Linked DNA regions of Homo sapiens: region 2 is linked to region 1. The links are contacts of gene promoters, found by promoter capture Hi-C in human tissues and cell types (Jung and others, 2019). All regions are on one chromosome and are shown on one strand. Each heading gives the region's core, a stretch centred on a gene start or on the middle of the fragment in contact. The rest is flanking DNA. Distances are from core to core; before and after follow the strand shown.

Evidence for each region. The method cuts DNA at HindIII sites, captures the fragments that hold promoters and counts their contacts. A contact is called where the count stands out against the background at its distance.
Region 2: a contact is called between a fragment that was not itself captured here and the fragment with the promoter of NKX2-8 in region 1, in 4 of the 25 tissues and cell types used here (hippocampus, lymphoblastoid cells, mesenchymal stem cells and 1 more).

The regions. Positions count from the first base shown.
Region 1 is chr14:36,580,197-36,584,234 of GRCh38, reverse strand. It overlaps NKX2-8 (NK2 homeobox 8), which reads left to right and starts at 1,621. Exons shown (of 2, transcript NM_014360.4): 1 at 1,621-2,002; 2 at 2,771-4,038. The coding sequence starts at 1,846. The coding sequence ends at 3,333. RefSeq lists enhancers at 2,230-3,040, 3,041-3,851. The HindIII fragment of the contact is 13,278 bases long and covers 1-4,038 here.
Region 2 is chr14:36,942,590-36,946,706 of GRCh38, reverse strand. The region is part of intron 1 of SLC25A21 (solute carrier family 25 member 21); the gene reads left to right. Among named protein-coding and RNA genes, the nearest start is that of MIR4503, 7.7 kb to the left of the region's middle. The HindIII fragment of the contact is 5,369 bases long and covers 1-4,117 here.

The DNA.
Region 1 (4,038 bases), core at 372-2,871:
GATTTATCCCGGCGCGTTAAAGCGCATTGTGAGCAGACGTCAATCATGCATTATTCCGGACTGAACAAATGCAAAATCTTGACTGGAACAAATGCTTCCAACAGGTCCGGGGCGTCGAGCTCCATTTCCCCTTTGTCCGCGGCCTAGCAGTTGGCCTGTATTGGGGTTGCCTCCGCCCGACCACCCAGCGCGCGGTGCAGCTCCGGGCACCTCGGGCACGCTTGATAGGGAGGCTGCTGGGGAGGGTGCGCGGGGCTTGACAGGGCCGCCGCCGCCGCATCCGAGCCAGGTTCGAGTTCAGCCCGGGAGGAGCCAGGACTTCTGGTGCAGCCACCCAAGTACAGAGCCCTTCGCTACAATTTAGCAACTAAATATCCAAACTACTAGCTTCAGTAGGAGAGGCCTCTGAGAGGGCGTTCCTCTGTAGATTGAAGCGCGGCCAGAGCTAGGCCATGGCCCAACAAAATGTATCCACGGCGGCCTGTTCCCTGCGCCTCCTACATTGATCATTTTCTAGGGTGGAACTGTGGAAACTAGAAGATCCCAGAGAAACCCATGGCCGGTGGTATTTTCTGCCGGGTAGGCCCTGTCCTAATTCTCCCGATCGGTCCATTCCCGGACCAAGGCGGGCAGCCTCGTCAGGGTCTGCCATGCTGCGAGCGGGGAGCGTAGGCCATGGGCAGGCTCCTGGGCAAAGACCAAAGCCCAGGCAGTGAGAGTGCCGTTGAGGCTATGGGGCCAAGGCGCACAGGCGGCACCAGTTCATCTGGCGACTCCAAGGAGGCCTCAAAGCCCTCACAGGATGCCCTGAGAAGCGCCCCCGCCCAGGGGCTCTAAAGCGGGCCTGGACCCAAATTTGTGGAGCTCGGCCTCCGAGCTCCGAGATCGGCAGCGGCCGGGCGAAGCTGGGCCAAAGAGACAGGCACTGTAGACCTAAGTAGCTTGGCTACAAGCCTCTTCTGTTTTGCCGGCCTGTGGAGACGTGGAGCTGGGGCTCCGAATGTTGTCCCAGCCCTTCCTCAGCACCTCTGAGGCTGTTAGGGGGATGTATGGTGTGATCCGAGGCTCCCAGCGGCCGTTGAAACCCCTGGGCCAATGCTGGCAGGGCCAGGCTAATCTTTACGCCCTCCTGAAACTTGTCATCCTGAATCTTAGAGGGGCCCAACCAAAAAGAGAAAGGGAGCGCGCCAGAGTTTAACGCCGCTTTGTAAATCACTTTCTGGATAATTGCGGGAAACTACCACTCCAGCAAACAAGCTCGAAGAATAAAGCAAACAGGGAATAAATTCCTGGGTGCTAATAAACCCACCCCTGCCACCCCCACCCTTCCCGGCGCTCCCGCGGGGCCTGGCCTCAAGTCAGCCCAGGAGGAGGAGGAGGAAGCTGGGGCTGGGTCAGGCGGGTGGTGGCCACCGCTCGCCACCCAAGATGTTATTCACTGGTAACAATCCCCATTATCTGTCCCCACTTTGGGCTAATCAGACAGAATCGCTAATGCCAAATGCTGCTTCCTGCAGCCTCTGGGAGGTAACTGGGCGCCAAGGGGCGGGGTGCGGGGCGGGGTGCGGGGCGGGGCGGGGGCGGAGGTGGCACCTTCCGGGCTCGCCCCGGCTCTGGTCCAGTGCTCATTCAGGTACTTAACACCCTGGAGACCCGGACCTCGGCTTTCAAAGCGGCCTGGGTGGGAAGAGCTGTTTATATAAACAGAGATTCCGCTGTAAATGCGCTAATATCCCGGCTGCCAGCGCATGGCGAGCGCCTCCCACGCCCATCCGTAGGAGCGGCGTCCCGGCCGCCCCTCCGTTCCCAGCCTGCCCTGCCCCCGCCTCCTTCCCCTCCTCGGCCATGGCCACCTCTGGACGCCTGAGCTTCACCGTGCGCAGCCTTCTAGATTTACCCGAGCAGGACGCGCAACACCTGCCGAGGCGGGAGCCAGAACCACGCGCCCCCCAGCCCGACCCCTGCGCCGCCTGGCTGGATTCGGAGCGCGGCCACTACCCTTGTAAGTGCGTGGTGGATTGCGGTGCGGGGTGGGAGGTAGGAGGCGTGGGGCAGCAGAATCAAGGGCCCAGCCCACGAGGGGCCGGAAAGCCGAAATCCCAGCCCAGAGTCTAGATTTCCTCAGTCTTGGAAACGGGAGCCCTGTCCTCGAACCCCTAACGCATTCATCCCGGTCGGCACATCCTAAGAGCAGATCCCTGCCTGGCACTGGTGCTCCGAGATTTGGGGTTTCTGTGTCTGACGATTTCTAGAGGTCGGAATAATTGAAATTTAAAACGCGCCGCCACCTGCCGCCCCCACCCCACCCCCCGCCCCCTCTCCATGCCTGAAAACACGGCCACGATCTCCAGGCCTCCGTCTGGGATGGCCAGTGTTGGCGAGTTTACCCCCACCCCGTTCCCACTCAGGGCTCCGCAAACCTCGGCACACTGCAGTGCAGTCGACCTGGAGGAGGCCGGCGCTGGTGACCCAGCTTGTGATAAACTGGTCGGCCAGCGCAACTACCGGTGCGGACATGTTAAGAGGGCCCCGGGGTGGGTTTTTTCGGGGCACGATCTCAGGCCCGCTGATGACCGCTGTGGTATGAATGAGGTCACCGCATTCGGAGAGGTGGATGTCCAGATGTGGACTCAGGAAATGGCCTCATCCCGAAAGTCTCGGGCTAGTGGGCGTGCCCTCTGGCCAGTGCCTCCACGCCCGCGCCAGAAGGGCAGCAGGCCCTCGTAGGGTCCGGCGTCTCACCCACCCGTGTCTCCTTTGCTGTCCCTAGCCTCGGACGAGAGCAGCCTGGAGACCAGCCCGCCAGACTCGTCGCAGCGGCCGTCCGCTAGGCCCGCGTCTCCGGGCTCGGACGCCGAGAAAAGGAAGAAGCGGCGGGTGCTATTCTCCAAGGCGCAGACGCTGGAGTTGGAGCGGCGCTTCCGGCAGCAGCGGTACCTGTCTGCGCCCGAGCGCGAGCAGCTGGCGAGCCTGCTTCGCCTCACGCCCACGCAGGTCAAGATCTGGTTCCAGAATCATCGCTACAAGCTGAAGCGCGCTCGCGCTCCAGGGGCGGCGGAGTCGCCTGACCTGGCAGCATCCGCCGAGCTGCACGCCGCGCCCGGCCTGCTGCGTCGCGTGGTGGTGCCGGTGCTTGTTCGCGACGGGCAGCCGTGCGGCGGCGGCGGCGGTGGCGAGGTGGGAACCGCCGCGGCCCAGGAGAAGTGCGGCGCCCCTCCAGCCGCCGCCTGCCCTCTGCCGGGCTACCCTGCCTTCGGTCCCGGCTCGGCGCTTGGCCTCTTCCCCGCCTACCAGCACTTAGCATCCCCCGCCCTGGTCTCCTGGAACTGGTGAGGCCGCAGGGCGGCACCTGGGGCTACCCTCGACTTTGGAGCGCGCTCTGCGATTGGAGCAGGGCCGGAGCCGAACGCCTGGAACGCTCTCCGTCCGCCTCCCTGCAGCCCCATCTCCTTGGGCGCCAGGGTCCCTGGCGCGCCCTCATCAGCCGTCGCGCAAGCACACACGAGGGACGTGTGCCAGAGCCCCCTCCCTCACCTTCCCTCCACCGCCAGCCCCAGAGTTAGATTTTATGCTTGGGCCTTATTTGTATATTTTTAAATAGCGATTTGTATAGGAAGCAAGTTATTTTTTTAAAAAATAGAGTATTTTTCCTCGTAGTTCGAGAATAAAATGTGTGGGGTTGGGTCCCCTGCGCGCCTGCGGGGAACGTAGGCGGGAGTCGTGCCCCCCAGACCGGTGTTCGCATCGCTGGCTCGCCCCTTGACTGGCTAAGTGGGGCCCGGCCCCAGCTGGATCGAAGGGCGGGTTGCAGTCCCGACACGGCTTTAGGAAGATACCTGGGGGATGGAGGGGTGGTGATGTCAGGGTTGGGCGCGGGAAGAAAAGGAGAGGAGGAAGCTGAGGCAACTTTGGGATTCTTGTCAGCGGGAGGCGTCACTGGCCCCAGAGTGACTCCGACTCTCCGCTGGGCTCCCAGAGCTGCTGGCGTTTCGAATACCGAAAAGTCAACCCTGTGGACCACGACAGGGCAGAAGGAGT
Region 2 (4,117 bases), core at 1,046-3,545, 360 kb before region 1:
ACCAACTGTTACCTAGATTTTAATTAATTGGTCAGCTGAGAAATGTGACAACACACCTGAAGAAATTATTTAGGGAAGAAAAGTTTCACCTACCTGGTATTTAACATTAAGATATTTTTCTTAATTCTATTTATACCAGGCAGGCAAAATAGAAGTTTAAGGGCACATGTTAATGCCATTGAAAGATTTAAGGACACAAACACTAAACTTTCATTGGAATTACTATTGCTATTATTTACGTATGGAATCATTTATTTATTGGTATTAATAGTCAATCAAATATAAGTTTACTCATGGTAAACTTAATTAATTACATTTAAACTAACTACCCTCACTTTCTTTCTCCTGTACAAATGATGGCTACTGGATACTAAATACAGACATTATTTAGAAACAAGAGGACTTAATTCTTGAACATACCTATGGATTGTGAGATCCTTGACGCTTTAAAGCTTTTAACATTGTATTTTAATGATATAATTTGTACTACACTGGTACAGTATGACAAGAAGTAAGTTTGCATTTGCAAACTTGTCTCCTATGTGTTTAATATTTATAAGCAGTTGATAACACCATTCTACTTGCTTCTTGCTATAAATCTAAAATGTTTCTACTTACATCCTTGAGGTATTCACTAATTTATCTGATCCTTTTTTCTTGTGCTAACGGAAGCATTCACATAATAGGTACATCATAGGGCTAGAGGTTATGTTGCTAGCTTGCTTATGTTTATATATTCAAATTCTTATTTTGGACTTTGAATGGTGAAATTTTTTCACCTTTTTTCTTCATTAAATAAAGTTAGTTTTTTATTGTGGCAAAATACACATAACATAAAATTTACCATCTTAACCATTTTTAAGTGTATAGTTCAGTGGCATTAAGTACATTCACATTATTGCACAGCCATCTCCACCATTCATCTCCAGAACTCTTTTCCTGTTGCAAAATTGAAGTTCTGTACCCATTAAGCACTAGCTCCCCATTATCTTCTCCCCCAGCCCCTGATGCCAACATTCTATTTTCTGTTTCTATGAATTTGATTATTCTAGGTATATACCATATATAAGTGGAATTGCACAGTATCTGTCCTTTTAGGACTGGCTTATTTCATGTAGCATAATGTCCTCAACGTTTATTCATGTTAGCATGTGTCAGAATGTCCTTCCTTTTTAAGGCTAAATAATATTCCATTTGTATGGATATACTTTATTTTGTTTTTCCATTCATCTGTCGATGAACACGGGTTGCTTCTACCTCTTGCCTCTCATGAATAGCGCTGCTGTGAATGTGGGGGTACAAATATCTCTTCAAGTCTCTGCTTTCAGTTCTTTGGGGTATATGCCCAGAAGTGGATTTTCTGGATTATATGGTTAAAATTTGTCTTACACAGGCTAAAAATGAGATGTCTCACTTGGGCACATGGTATCAACTTGTATTTCTGCCTCCATTTGTAGCAATATTCTTTACTTTTATGTCTCAGTTTCTTCATTAAGTGAAGATAACATACCTTATTTCTCAGTAGTTTGAAAGGATTATGGGGACATTTTGCTGATGGACTGGGTAACCACTTCTTCTTATCCTCACAGGTAGTCCTGAAGAACTAAAAATAATAATAATCTGAGTCAGGGGAAAGAGGTTTTTGGTTTGTTTCGGTTTTGGCTTTTGGTTGTCCTGAGAAGACTGACTAGGATGAACACTCCTAGAAAAAGGAAGAAATCAACATGATTTGGCATGTTCTCAGCAACTGTACCAGCAGTGTTATGAAAAGGTCAAAATGATGATAAACCATCATATATTTCAGTTTGAAAATTAGAATTGATTCACACAACAAAAATAAACTGTGATGGGATGAGTCAGCTTCAGGCAGTGGACCTAGCTTTAGGGCATCTCATCTTGGGTCAGTGTTTGTTTGGCTTTTGAGGTAAGGCTCATTCTACTCAATAAAATGAGAGAAGATGGGACAAACTGTGAGAAAGGGAAAAATGTGAAATTTATCTTTGTTAAGGAGGCACATATGAATTCTGTGGCTTAGAAATGCTTTACAAATGTTCATGAGTTTTCTTGTGTATTGAATAGGACATTCGTAGTCACTTGTTTATGCTTACACTGGAGCCGGCCCTTGGAGCCCCACCCTTCAGGGAGAAGACTGTGGAACAGATGTCGCTCTCCACAGCCTGTGTGGATGAGGGAGAGAGGAGATCCTCTCACTATCTGTGATGTTTCCTCCCCCAGCATGGTTTACTAAGTGTTAGTCATCTCTCAAGGCCCAGCTGCCTCCTTCAGAAAGCCTTCCTTGATACCCTATGCCCTCCACCCGCAACCTGCCAACTCCTACCGCAAGCTGAAGGCAGTTTTCTTCCTCTGGACTCCCATAACAATTTCTCAAAGCCCACTGGGACAATCACTTTTGTCTGCTACTTGTCCACATGTCTTTCCTCCCCTATTAATGGCAGGCTATGGGTTTGTCCTTGCCCGACAGTATGCTGGGCTAGGGTCCCAGGTGTCGACAGGATTCAGGATATGACCTTGACAACTGGCCAGAGGCACCTGCATTTACCTCTGGTCACTCTTCAGTACAGAGGCCAACACGGGAGCATGGCTCTGTGATGTAAATGGAGAAGGATTAGAGCAGAATTTTTATATGTATGAATTTGGGATTTCAGAGGGAATTGGGTATCCTTTTCTTGGAGTGAATTAGGCCCAATCTGTTGCCTTTTATCTCCTCTAATAAATTTAGTGGTGATAATTTTATATTTAATATAAACATCTTTTACTATGTATTTTTTCAATTAATTAATTAAACTTGTTACAGGGAAATATGTTACTAGGAGGTTTCTTAGCCAGCTTTTTAAACAAAGGCTTCTTGCTAACTGGAAGGCCCAGTTAGGTGGTATAAGACTCATACCCTGTTCTTATTTCCAAGCCTTGGCGAAACCTTCCTGACCTGACTTTGCAGTGCTCTCTCAGGTTTGGTACTGTGTAAGCTACAAAGAGCCAAGTGGAACTGTCACTGGGTTACCTGGCATTTCCCCAGACTTTCACAAGGACCGATTTACCAGGGGCAGTTCATCTTGGTCTTACATATAGCAGCAGGGCAGGGACTCAGAGGGACAGAAGCAGCCCTCCAATAGTGTGAATACTTAGAATAGTTCATTTGTGTGCTCTGAAATAAACCCCTACATGTCTAAGACATGATACAAAACAAGCCTAGGGCCAGGTGCGGTGACTTATGCCTGTAATCCCAGCACTTTTGGGAGGCCAAGGCGGGCAGATCACATGAGGCCAGGAGCTCAAGACCAGCCTGGCCAACATGGTGAAAGGGTGTCTTTACTAAAAATACAAAAATTAGCCGGGTGTGGTGGAGCGTGCCTGTAATTCTAGCTAGTCGGGAGGCTGAGGCAGGAGAATCACTTGAACCCGGGAGGCAGAGAGCTGCAGTGAGTTGAGATTGCACCACTGCACTTCAGCCTGGGTGACAGAGTGAGACTCAGTCTTAAACACAGGGACAGTGACTAAAATCTATCTCCCTATGTAGGAAAATATAATAGAATTCTTTCTTCAGCAAATCATAGAGTCTCACAATTGGGAAGACTATAGAGTTCACTTGGTGGACTTGACTGATGTGTGACTCTCTCTGGCATGTAGTAGTAATTCCGCCTTTGCTCAGATTTGCGTTTCTGACTCATTGCCTTCTAAGGCAGAAGCAGCTCTCTACTGGAACCATACCTTCCCCAGTCCCAAAAGATGGGGGTGGACTAGGGGAGGGGCTCAAATCTAAATTTACCCTCCTACTAAAAAGTGCCATGAAGGAAAAATAACTATACCTCTGCACATAATATTTTAGTTTGAAAACTCCAAATTTAGTGTATAAGTAGTATAAGTACTATTTGGTTACTTATGTCCCAAATACAGACTGAACTTCACAAACAGCCGGTCACTTGATTTCATCAAAATTCTTTGCTTGATGGAGAACAGACTAGTGTGACCAGCTTTGGCAGAACATATCAAGGGAAAAGAAAATTGCACAAGTCTTTTCACCACGTTATATTTTTCACCACAGCTGGTCTTTTTCCTCTCCACCACTTCTACCCCTCCAAATTTTCTTTCTGTCCTT